Regions from separate parts of the Homo sapiens genome. Here region 2 is linked to region 1. The links are contacts of gene promoters, found by promoter capture Hi-C in blood cells and fetal thymus (Javierre and others, 2016). All regions are on one chromosome and are shown on one strand. The core of a region is centred on a gene start or on the middle of the fragment in contact, and the rest is flanking DNA. Distances in the headings are between cores, read along the strand shown. Region 1 holds the start of ARPP19 (cAMP regulated phosphoprotein 19). Region 2 overlaps MYO5C (myosin VC).

The links. The method cuts DNA at HindIII sites, captures the fragments that hold promoters and counts their contacts. A CHiCAGO score of 5 or more calls a contact.
Region 2: a fragment that was not itself captured here is called in contact with the fragment with the promoter of ARPP19 in region 1 in 6 of 17 cell types (endothelial precursors, fetal thymus, M1 macrophages and 3 more); the score reaches 6.5 in endothelial precursors.

The regions. Positions count from the first base shown.
Region 1 is chr15:52,564,398-52,570,728 of GRCh38, forward strand. ARPP19 (cAMP regulated phosphoprotein 19) reads right to left here and starts at 4,633. Exons shown (of 3, transcript NM_006628.6): 1 at 4,451-4,633. The coding sequence starts at 4,495. RefSeq lists enhancers at 3,484-4,232, 4,233-4,979, 5,033-5,162 and silencers at 4,333-4,432, 4,503-4,562. The HindIII fragment of the contact is 6,860 bases long and covers 1-5,317 here.
Region 2 is chr15:52,251,971-52,258,299 of GRCh38, forward strand. MYO5C (myosin VC) reads right to left here. Exons shown (of 41, transcript NM_018728.4): 11 at 4,669-4,750; 12 at 1,347-1,487. Among named protein-coding and RNA genes, the nearest start is that of MIR1266, 22 kb to the right of the region's middle. RefSeq lists an enhancer at 5,347-5,923. The HindIII fragment of the contact is 2,236 bases long and covers 2,597-4,832 here.

The sequences.
Region 1 (6,331 bases), core at 3,383-5,882:
TAAGACCCTGTCTCAAACATAACAAAAACATTCTTCAGCCTTTAGGTAACCAAAAGTAGTTGTCAAAAGAGCTCCTGAAAATACCAATATGAACTCCTATTTTTAAAATACTGGAAGCATGGGAAAACAATTTATATCTCTTTATGGTTGATATATTAAAATAATGCAGATAAAGGTTCTTTTCCTCTTCTACCACTCATAAAGGCACCAACCTGTATCTCTTACCTGACAAATAATTTCATTGACAGCTTTCCTGTGGGTATCCTTTCCAAGACATATTAGTTTGGTGAGTCTTATAACCTCTAGAAAACTTGCTATTGAGATCTTAAAAAAAAAATTAAGGCCACAACACAAACGAAAAAATATATACACACATCACTGTAGTTTCGTTCAAGAGTTCTTAAGTGGGTCTAAGCTAAGGTTTTCATCTTACCATGGTCTATTCTTCTCTGTGGTACTAGCATTGTCATTTGTTTTGAAATAGTACTTTGGCAAAGGTTTTAACAGAAAAGTTCTGAGGAAAATCCATTCAACCATTTTGTAAATAATGTCAAGCACAATGTTGAGTGCTGTGAGAGAACAGATATATAAACCAGGGTCCCTGAGCATAAGCTGCTCACAGTGCAATTAAAATTACCATCTTTTTTTTTTTTTTTTTTGAGACAGGGTCTCCCTCAGTCACCCAGTGGCGCCATCAAAGCTCACTGTGGTGCCATCAAAGGTCCCTGTGGTTTTGACCTCCTGGAGGTCAAGTGATCCTCCCCTCAGCCTCTGGAGTAGGTGGGACTACAGGTGTAGATTTATTATTTTAGAGACGGGGTTTTGCTATGTTGCCCAGGCCGGTCTCAAACTCCTGGCCTCAAGCGATCTTCCCACCTTGGCTTCCCAAAGTGCTGGGATTACAGGCAAGAGCCACCCTGTAGGGCCAGAATTATCTGTTTTAAGTTTCCACTTGCCTCTTCTCCCCTCCAGGACTAGTACACATGCCTTAGCTTACTGCTGATAGATTCATGAGATCTGTACTCAAAACTTTTAAATGTTTTGTTTTCACTTCAGTGGTTATCTCAAAGGCAAATATAAGCATATTCTGGGGAATCTGAATCACCACGTTGCATCTAAGTAGTGCTATGTGGGTTCTGCATCTGAGCTTTCTTTGACAAAGACTCAGCAGGTTACTCCAACTGTCCAAGAAAATGAGAAAAGAATGGAGCTGAACTTAAAATGTGATTGTATCTATGACTCTGGAAACTTAGTGACCTCATAGTTTACTCTTAAAAGGGGAACTGAGCCACCACATGGCCTAGGGGAGTGTTTACTTGACAAACTCAAAAACTCCCTCAACTTTTAACAATTGCTGCCATATTCCAAATACATTGGAAATTTAGTTTCAGCAAAATACCAAGCACACAATCAAAAATTTAGACTGGCTTTGTTGTATTTAATCTGTTTTAGTTTAAATTTTATTTTATTTTTTTGAGATGCAGTCTCACTCTGTTGCCCAGGCTAGAGTGCAGTGGCACGATCTCGGCTAACTGCACCCTCCGCCTCCCAGGTTCAAGCAATTCTCCTGCCTCAGCCTCCTGAGTAGCTGGAACTACAGGTGCGTGCCACCACACCCGGATAATTTTTGTATTTTTTAGTAGAGAGGGGGTTTCCCCATATTGGCCAGGCTGGTATCGAACTCCTGACCTCATGATCCGCCAGCCTCGGCCTCCCAAAGCGCTGGGATTACAGGTGTGAGCCACCGTGCCCGGCCAAATTTTATTTTATTTATTTTCTGACACAGAATCTTGTTCTGTTGCCCAGGCAGGAGTACAGTGGTATGATCTCAGCTCACTGCAACCTCTGCCTCCTGGGTTCAAGCAATTCTTATGCCTCAGTCTCCCGAGTAGCTGGGATTATAGGTGTGGGCCACCATGCCTGGCTAGTTTTTGTACTTTTAGTAAAGACAGGGTTTCACCGTGTTGGCCAGGCTGGTCTTCAACTCCTGGCTTCAAGTGATCCACTCGCCATGACCTCCCAAAGTGCTGGGATTACAGCTGTGAGCCACAGCACAGGCCTTTTAAATTTTTAAAAAATATTTTAAAAGTAGCTCACTGTAGCCTCGAACTCCTGGTCTCAAGTGATCCTCCCACCTCAGCCTCCCAAGTAGCTGGGACTACAGGCCTACAGACATGCCACCACACCTGGCTAATTTTTATTTTATTTTATTTTATTTTGTAGAGACAGAATCTTACTATGTTGACCAGGCTGGTCTCAAACTCCTGGCCTCAAGCAATCCTCCTGCCTCAGCCTCCCAAAGTGCCAGAATTATAGGCAAGAGCCACCACGCCTGGCTGTTTTAGTCTTAGAGTGGTATACAAGTTAAGAGATAAGAGTTTATACTTATTTTTTATGTTTGTACATATTGTTTCCTAATACAAGACAGGAATCTATCTGGTTTTCTTCTCTTACCAAGGGTGCACACACCACTCAAGATAGAGAAAGTGACTTAGCTTTTACTCCATGCAAGGCCCAGCTATCTACCTTAATTCTTTAGCGGCAACAGGCAACCTACCAGTAAACTATAAAGGTATTTTTAGCTGAATACTTTGGCTTTAAGTGGAAGGTCAATTGGGTACACAGACAATAACTTAATTTTTTAGGTCATCGAACTGATCTTCCAAATAGAAGAAACAGGTGATTTGGCCCACAGGAACACAGAAGTGACTGTGCACATTTTCTTCATGGTTAGGGACACCATCCACGCCACAGGCACTTAGCATTTACAGCCAATCCTCAATTTAAGAAGGAACATTATATTCCTAACACACTTTGGTTGATTTTAATGACAGCAGCTAAAACCAAAGCACCTTAAATGTTTAATGTAGACAATCAATAAGAGAAAACGTTCAAGCTATCCTTAATATTGTTAAAAGATACATTAGGCTTTTCCAAGTAAAAGTATTTACACTCTAGAAGTCAATACTGCATACTTTGGCAACATACTAACAGAACTTATCAAAGAAAATTACATAGCACACTACTGTGCACCAGAAGTTAATGCTAAGTTTGATGTAAGTGTTTAAGGCAAACCACCACAGACAGGGACTTGTTATTTTTGGGGGCTCCTAAATTTCAAGCAATAATGAACACAATACGCATTTTACAATAAGCAGGTGATACTTAATAATACTGTTAAGATTGCAAACTTTAATATTTGTATTTTTGCCCCCAAAATCCATTTTTTTGGTAATGCGTAAATATATCTATTTTCACGGGATATTCTCAAATAATGTGGTAACTTGGACTTTTACCTATGCTATATGTTTTCTTGTTTTTCAATTACTTTAACATCCTAACAGAAGCACCCAACTTAAGAAAAGTTAACACGGTTTTAAGAACATATGGAATGGGCTTAGAACACTAATCCAATTCCCAACTTAATTAGGACATAAGTGCAACATTAAGCAGAAACCCGCACGAAGGTCAAGCAGTAGACCAAAATCGTATTTAACGGCAACACAACCTGATTTGTAAGAAAAATTGTTGATAAACAATTTAGGAGACAAGATACCTCGGCCCTTTCTCACTTCTCGGCCAGTCACACCTGCCTAGGAGGGCAGGGCGGTGGAAATAATTACAGTGGGAGAGACAAACACCAGCCTAGATAAATACAAAGGCTTGATATTCATAATTTGAACCACAGTGACACTCCCGGCCTATTCCCCTACATCAGGAAGACACAAGGGCGTTTACAAAATATTCCTGTTTCCAATAAAACCCTGATTAATTTCGTGAGTAAAATTTTAAAATTCCACCCTTTCGATTTTTAGTCAAGTACCATATTTGAGTCCCATCGACTGAAACCTTTTTGAGCACAGACTGCGCTGCACACTACACCTGACTCACCTCCTCTAGGCCTCACCCCGCCGTGGGAGGCAAGCACCAGTATTCGGCCTTTACAGGTGAAGACACTGAAGGCCGGACTTTACTCACTGACCATGGTTACAAGGGTTGGCCCTGAAATGCCAATCCTGGCCCACATCGCGGCCCGCACACGAGGCACTGCTTTTGGAGTGAACCGCACGCTCACAATACAAGTAGTTGGAGAGTTCTTCAAAGGAAAAAATAAAACTTCCTAACCAAATTGAGGCTTACAGAAAAACTTAGGCTCTACGCCCAAAGCCTGCGTCCTGGGCTCTCGCGTAAATATAAGTGACTGAGGAACACCGCGACCCACGGAGGTGTTACAAAAGGCACGATTCGGAGTAAACGCGGGGCACGTTGGAACTCCCAATTCGTCGGCGCACCAGCCAGCGACGGCGGGAAGCCAAAGGTGGGGCGCAGGAGCCTCGGCCTCATGCGCCTCGGCCCCGCATCTCGGGCGCGGCCCTCCGCCTGGCGGGAGCAGGCCGCCCGCCAGACCCGGCCTTGGGCAGGGCCCAGGGCTCACGCCCCGCGCGCTCACCTTCTGCTCCTCCGCGGAGGCTGCCTCGGGGACTTCCGCAGACATAGTGCTCCCTCTGCAGACGAGACGCCGGGAAAAGATGCAATTAGCGGGTGGCCGAGGCCACCCGGCCGCCGCCCGTCCCAGCTCTCCCAGGGCCCGCCGGGCCGCCTCCGCCCGCGAAAATGGCCGCCGCCTTATGACGACACGGAGCCGCGAAACGCTCCGCTGGCCAAGGCCCTCGCACGCCGGAGCCCGCCTGCCCCTCCCGCACCGCACCCCTACCTACTTGACCCCGCTTCTCCCGCTCGCTGTCGTCCAAACACTTCCTTTTTTCCTTCAAAGGTCGCCGCTCCTGCCTCACCTCACATCCGTTTGTGGCTGCCGAGTGCTTCCTGGGAATTGTAGTTTCTAAGTGGAACCGCCCCTCCCCGCCCTTTCCTGTCCACTCTGGTCCCCTCGTTCTAGGAGCTTTATTTTACTCTTTCCACTTACCCATCCTCGCCTAGTTCTGTTCTCCTCGCTCTCCGCTCTGTAGCCACACAGGCTGTCTTTTGGGCACGCCAAAAGTCTTGCTCCACTCTGCCACGCCTTCACATCTCCAGTCCTACGTCTCTGCCTCAGAACCTTTCCTTCCTAAACCTCTACACTAGGCCAGAGCCACCTCTTAAAGGCTGTCACAGCCCTGTACAGTTCCTCAACAACATGAACTGTATCATTACACAATTGTCGTGACTTTAGGTCACCTTTCCTTCTCAGATAAGCCGCACCAGGGCAGGGATCTCGTCTGTAATTACTTATATTTTACTCTGAGGGTCCAGCACTTCCTAGATATCTAACGAAGGAATTCAGATTCATTTGTCCACTCCCAGGGGGTCCACTCCCACAAGCTTACCGAAACTGCTAGCATTGAGCTCCCCCAATGACCTTTTTATTTGCCAAGTCCTGCGGCTTCTTACTGAATCCTCATTCTACTTGATATCTGAATAGTTACTCGCAATGTTTGTTGGTTCCAACAAAGTGTCCCTCAGAAACTTGGAAATAAGATTGCCCTCTAAAAGTTAAACTAGTAAAAAGCCACAGAAAATGAATGCATTTCTGGGGGCAGGGGAACAATTGAAAGACCCTAAATGCCTGGATAAGGAATTTGGAAACCATCGAAACTCAACCAGGATGTAGAATCTCAGACAGGAAGAATTGCACTGGAATTGCAACTAGAAAAACAAAAAGAGTTAATATTGCACTCCTTTTGGAGAAACGAAGGAAGGCATTTGTCAGCCAAGGAAGTATTGAAAATAAAAGGGTTCAACAGGCCAACTGTTTGACAAAGATATCCCTTAAGAATGTCTCACGCTGGGCTAGCTGAGAAACTGTAAGATCCACGACATATTTGTTCTCCTTCTATACTCACAAAGTAACATACTGAAAATTTGCCTTTCCCTTAAGCAGAACTGCAGAGAGAAAGAAGAGTGCAGTAGTTAGGCCACTGAAGCATTTAACAGTTGTATTTTTATTAATAAATTGACTGACGTTCTAGTATATGTCCTATATCAATGTATTTGTGAACTTGAGTTAAAATCTGATAGACATACACTTAATGATGAAACTCAGCCTCAAGAAAATTGGCTGTGGCTGGGCACAGTGGCTCACTCGTAATCCCAGCACTTTGGGAGGCCAAGGCGGGCAAATCGCTCGAGCTCAGGAGTTCAAGACCAGCCTGGCCAACATGGCAAATCTCTGTCTCTACAAAAAGAAAAAAAACTTTTTTTTCTTTTTCTTTTTGAGACAGAGTCTCAACTCTGTCACCCAGGCTGGAGTGCAATGGCACAATCTCGGCTCACTGCAACCTCCACTTCCTGGGTTCAAGCAATTCTCCTGCCTCTGCCTCCCAAGTAGCTGGGA
Region 2 (6,329 bases), core at 2,465-4,964, 310 kb before region 1:
GGCTTTTAAAAAAGCAACTTTAGGCATTAATTTATCCTTGATCTTAATCTTTAGGGCACTTTAAAAATTATTATTAATTGACAAATAACAATTATATATATTTGTGGGGTATTTGATGTGATATTTTAATGGATACATCAAAGTCTCTTTAGAAGAACAAAACTTTAAAAAGAAATGGTCACACAATGACTTTAGAATGAAGAATTTTATTTCTATAAAATAGGCAGTATTTTATTTCTTCCCAAAGAAATCTAAAGGTTCAGGAAAAAATAGTGTGGGTTCCATTACACGAACATGACCTTTATTCACGGGTGAATGGGAAAAGACTGGCACCTGAATAGAGAGTCCTCCCCTTCCCCTGCCTCAGGAAAATAGTTTTTCTTATTTTACTTCCTAATTAACTCACTCCTTGAAATAAGGGCATACCTCCTTGTACTAAGCTAGTTGCGAAATTTGATCTTGATACATGTGATTTTTTTTTTTTTGAGATGGAAACCCCATCTCTACTAAAAATACAAAAATTGGCCGGGCGCAGTGGCTCATGCCTGTAATCCCAGCACTTTGGGAGGCCGAGGCAGGCGGATCACGAGGTCAGGAGATCCAGACCATCCTGGCTAACATGGTGAAACCCCGTCTCTACCAAAAATACAAAAAATTAGCTGGGCATGGTGGTGTGCGCCTATAATTCCAGCTACTCCGGAGGCTGGAACAGGAGAATCACTTGAACTCAGGAAGCGGAGGTTGCAGTGAGCCGAGATGGCACCACTGCACTCCAGCCTGGGTGATAGAGCAAGACTCCGTCTCAAAAAAAAAAAAAATCCTTTAACCCCGAAACCTTATTAATCCTCACTTTGGGATTATTTGTTCTTGTGGCCCCATGAGAGACACTGCCAGGCTGGCCTACTTCAGAGTTTCCCAGAGGGAAATGGTAAGAAGAAAACTCTAGAAAGCTCTTCTGGTGAATCATACGATGTTGATTTTTCTTGATGACTCACAAGAATCAGGATGTAAAAGAAAACTCAATTCTTATTAGTCACCGACAACTTGAGTGGAGTCACTTGCTGTTTTCATGCATGTTTCTACATACACTTTGGGACAGCCTCCATGCTGGAAGTCAGGTAAAAGAGGTGGTGCAGCTCCCCAAGCGTGGTCTACACAGGCTGAGGGCAAAAGGCCCAGTGGGCCCTCTGGGGTCCCTGCTGTGGATGCTGTCCCAGCATTAATATCCATCCAACCAACTGGATAAACATCAGGACTTCACAAGCACACTTCAAAAAAACTGCTTTGCAAAATGCTCATCTGTTACTACTTAAAAGCTGAAAAAAACAATTATTCTTAAAAGTTACCAAACATTCTTCATCCAGTAACTCCAGAATTCCCATTTTTGCTTCAATCAGGTCAATAACTGGTTGATTGTCATAAAAATCTATCAGCGTCCAAGGTATATCTTCCTTCATGTATTCTTCTTGTTCCAGTTTGAAGACATGCTGGGAATCCAAAGTTAATACAGAAAGTAAAACAGAATATTAAAATACGTTTCCAAAGAGCAGGATGTAAGCATTTGGAAAATGTAAATGGTTGATCTGTAATATTTATGTTTAAAAAGAAGGACCCTGAAGTATAGACAAGGCCCATACCGTGATCAATACCGCCGAGTTCCTAAAGCGAGTCTAGCTGTCATCCTCCCACCTAGTCTGAGTGGGTCTCTACCTCCTAGGACATGGCTTGGGCCAGCCTGTGTCACCACCAGCACCACATGGTACTCAGTGTGGTCCTACAGCCCCTTCCTGCTAGCAGCTATCCAAGGACAGATCCAGCCTCTTTGGCCTAATGCAGCCTGGCTGGGTGGAGCCAGCTACCTGAGAATGCTAGCTGCGGGGCCGGTGGGAGAAGCCCACTGCTTAGAGATCTTCGTGCACTACTCACTTGGGCTGTAAGGGTATCAGGGAGGCTTCCCAGAGGATGTACTCAGGCTTACCATGGAGGATGAAAGAAAGTTTGGCTGGCAGGTGGTGAGGTGGGGTAGGGTGGGGTGGGGTGGGGCATCAAGAAAACCCTCCTATGGAGGAATCCCAGTGGGAACCACATGAAAGCTCAATGGGTGCTTGAGAAACGCACCTCAAGCAGGTTAGAAATTACAGGAGGACAGCAGCAATGTGGTGGCAAAGAATGGTACAGTCAAATCACCTGAGACCTTCACACCCTCCTTAGAGAATTCTGGGCCTATGGCCTTTTTCTAGGAGCAGTGAGGACCCGCTGGAGGGCGGAGGGGTTATGATGAGACCTGGAGGATGGCTCAGAGGAGGGAAGAACCGGAGGCAGTGAGACCAATGAGGACTCAGCCCGATGCTCTTGATGGCTGGGACTCAGGGAGGAGGAAGAGGAGCGAAGAGGTCAGGATGAATGTCAGGCTCAGGACATGGGGTCCATGGCGTGACTTGACCACAGAAAGTCACGTGGAGGGTAAGCGGGCTGAGAGGAGAAGGTGGCACCGGCACTTCTACACTTGCTACTGCTGAGCTCCCTGGGGGCATCAGGTGCAAGGCCCAGTGGCAGCCAGAAGAGGGGGACTGGAGATCAGGAGAGTCCTACCCAAAGCTTTCTGTGCTGACAATTGAAGATACTACCCCTCCTGGGAGGATCTACACATTGATGGATGACTCAGAAAAAGGAGAAGAGGAAAAAGGAAGAGAAGGAGGAGGAAGTGGAAGAGGAAGAAGAACAGGAGAGGAGAACAAAAGCAAAAAAAAAAAAATAGAATTACAGCCTCTGATTTGTGATTTTTGGCAAGACATCTGGTATAAGTGTCACTTTGAGGTTAAGGTGGACATGTTGGGGAGCAGCACGCCATTGCAGCCAGGGAACAGGGTAGCAGCCACAGAGAGTTTGACTTCAGGTGAGTTATACTGAATATGCACTTGGAATAAACCTCAGCTGTAGTTATTAATGTTAAACTTCCAGGAGAGCCTTGCAAATGCTAAAGAAATGAAATTTACAATGGAATGAAATTTAATGGTTATACATGAATTAATTCTGGGCCAAAAAAAAAAAAAGAAACTTCTACTGAGTAGGATTCAATGTTAGGTCTTCTCACAATATTAGACAGTTATTATTGACTCTTTTTAAATTGATACATAATAGTTGTACATAGTTTTGTGGTACATGTGATATTCTGACACATACATACAATGTGTAATGATGACTCATTTTTAAAACAAGGAAACAGAGGCTCAGAGAACCCAAGGTCCCAGAGGGAGGTGGTAGAGCTGAGATTCAAACCCAATTTAGTTTGAGCCAAAGCCCACACTCTCCAAGACGTCATGCTATGTTTTCCTCAGGGGTTCTGAGGGAGCATAAGACTGGACACTAACAAAGGTATAACCTTTCCTTGGAGTAACTGTTAGGGTATTAAAGTGTGATTTCTATTATGAACTGGAATCACCATTCTTCCCATAAACATGTAGCCAAAGTTTAGAATGTAAGCTAAAGGGAAAATGTGAGTTAGTAAAGCATTTTAGCTTTCATGGCTTTTCAGAAACAGAGCCAAATATAAATGTTAAGGAGGCAATTATAAAAAAAATATGAGAGTAGTTTCATGGTAGGGCCAATGTAGAAAGATGTTCAATCAACTTTTAATTTCATTGACTTCTGTTAGGAGCAGAAAGGCGTCAGTACTGTTGGGAATTCAAAAGTGAATTCAATAAAGTTCTTGCATCTAGGGAACTGATTTAAGAGGTTGAAATTGTATTCAATACACATAGCAATAATAAATGCCCAAACAGCCACAAGTAGCATTTACTCAACATTTTTTAAATTGTTTTATTCATCTTTCTACCTCAGCACTTAACTTGGTACCTGGTATACACAGTATACACTCAAAAACGTCTTTTGAATAAACAAATCTTCCCAGTGGAAAAAAAAAATTGGAATCCATCTCCTGTCTGTTTCCATGGGATGATACATTTGATCTTATTGTTAGTTAGGAAGGTACCATATATGTCTTGTTCTAAATTAAGGTTGGAGAAACTCATTCCCATAATCCATTGGCCATCTGCTGTTTAGTGCTGCATGTGCCGAGATAAGCACTGGGCTGAGAGAGACAAAGAATGCCAGTCCTGGCCTCTCCAGGTGACCAAGTCTATTTGGAAACTTGCATGCAAATGATGATAATTCCATGTGACAGGCCTGCGATAAGGAAGCACATAGGAAGAGGCCAGGAGGTATCGCAGGAGGCTCTCAGGGAAGCTGGATCTCAAAACACAAGCTGGAGTTGGCCACGTGAAGATAAAGCAATGGGGAAATAACAGGAGCACGTGGGTTAAGGCAGAGAAAGCAGCAAGTGCAAAGACAGAGAGGCTCGAAAGAAAGTGGAGGCCTCAGGCAACCAACTAAATAGTTTTGTCTGGCTGCACAGAGGGTCTGTATCCAAGAAGGGCAGTGAGGCTCACACATTGGCAGGTGATTCAAAAAAGATGAAATAGATGAGAGGGTGTGATTTCAAGATTTGGCCACAAGGTGGTGCAGTGACCCAGCGTGAGGCTCCTTGCATAAAAATTTGCAACCTCAAGAAAGAAGAATGCCTCTTTCCACGAACACACACACACACACACACACACACGCGCGCGCGCGCGGCTGAGAACTAGTCAAGAAGGCAGAAAGGTCACCTACCATGTTAAACTGTTGTTGCAGTTTTTCATTAGCGTAATTGATGCAAAATTGTTCAAAGCTGTTCACATCAAAGGTTTCAAAACTGAAATACAATTTAAACAAGTTAAAATATAACCTGAAGCAAGACATATGCATTTGTTTATAGATATTTTTTGACACTTAAAAGCTTAAACGTTTGCTATGTCTTCTACAAGTTTTAAATACCCCTCAAAGCTTCTGGTTTTAATGATATCCTAGTAGTCAGTTTATAAATAACCCTTTTCCTGGTTGTCCCCCGGAAGAAATCTGGTAGGTATAAAACACCTACCTCAAGCCAGGCATTAAAATAAGCATGTCACCATATGGTGTAGTCCGCACAACAACAGTGATATTGGCAATTATTATTCTGACTTTATAGGTCAGAAAATAAGCCCGAGAGGTTAAGAAACTTGCCAAAGGTCACACAGCTTGTGTCAGAACTTAGCTGCGAAGCTGCCTGACTGTGATGCCTGTGCCTCCAATGAGAAGGCAATGTGGTTTCCTATTCTCTCCTTGTCTGTTGAGGGGAGGAGCAGCACAACTGCAGCACAATTTTGCCTCCCTAAGGGGTGCTTTCATAGCTCCTAGAGGAAAAGGGCAAAGTCATTTCATATCCTACAGCCCAGCACACCCCATCAGGGACGAGACAGACATGGCTGGCTTCCATATTCAGACTTTCATCAGCTGCCTCTGCAGTTGCCTTGGAGTTGCAAGCTCAAGAACTGAGAGGAGCCCTTGGGGAGGCAGCTGCTACTCAGCTCCTGCCGGATGTAGCCATGGATGAATGCGGCCCAGGATGTTAGATTAATTGATTCTTAAGAAAAGTCAGAAAACTGGGACTTTTAAGTGAATAATCCCACTCTGCAAAACGTGGGCCGAACAAAACAGAGGCACCAAATTTACCACCTGGCCAGATGAGCTCCTGCTGGAAGGCAGCTTGCTGAGCACTTTTAAGGTGTCAGCATTTATGCACGTCACCTCCTATAACCCTAACACAGCCCTATGTGAAGGGCTCCTGTGACTCCACTGTCACACACGAGGGTCAGAGAAGGAGTGACCATGGTGAGGACCAACAGCCAGCAAGTGGTGCCAGAAATGCAATTCGACCCCAGTGCTTGGTGCCTCCAAAGCTTTGTTCTTAATCGCTCTAATCCTGAGAGGTTCCTGCCGGCTCCTATCACAGGTCCCCTGGGAGTCTCACTTGACTGAGCTGGTTTGGCTCAATCTGGAATTCCTGGGCAGGGTAAGAACCTGGACTGTCCTCTAGACAGCTCCAGGGTGATTCATAGCAGCTCTGACAGCCCCATTCCACACGCAGCCTTGGTGGCTCAGAGATTCGGAGGCTGGTCTGCTCATGGAAGCAAGGCCAGGGCTGGGCCTGGGGGAAGATTAAAAAGGGTCTCACTGAGCTCTGCAGCTCACAGCTGGGGCCAAGGGCAGGGCTTTCTAGAACCTGGCAAAATGTCAAACATCAATGCATTATTTTGGGGCACAAAAATCTGAAGTTTAGGACCCATGGAAAGACCTAGATCTGTGACTTAAAATGCTAGAGGCACATTGGCTATGAAAACACTTCACACTGGAACCATGCTTATGGTTTTCAAGGTACCTGCATAATTTCTTCCATCATATGTTCAAAATCA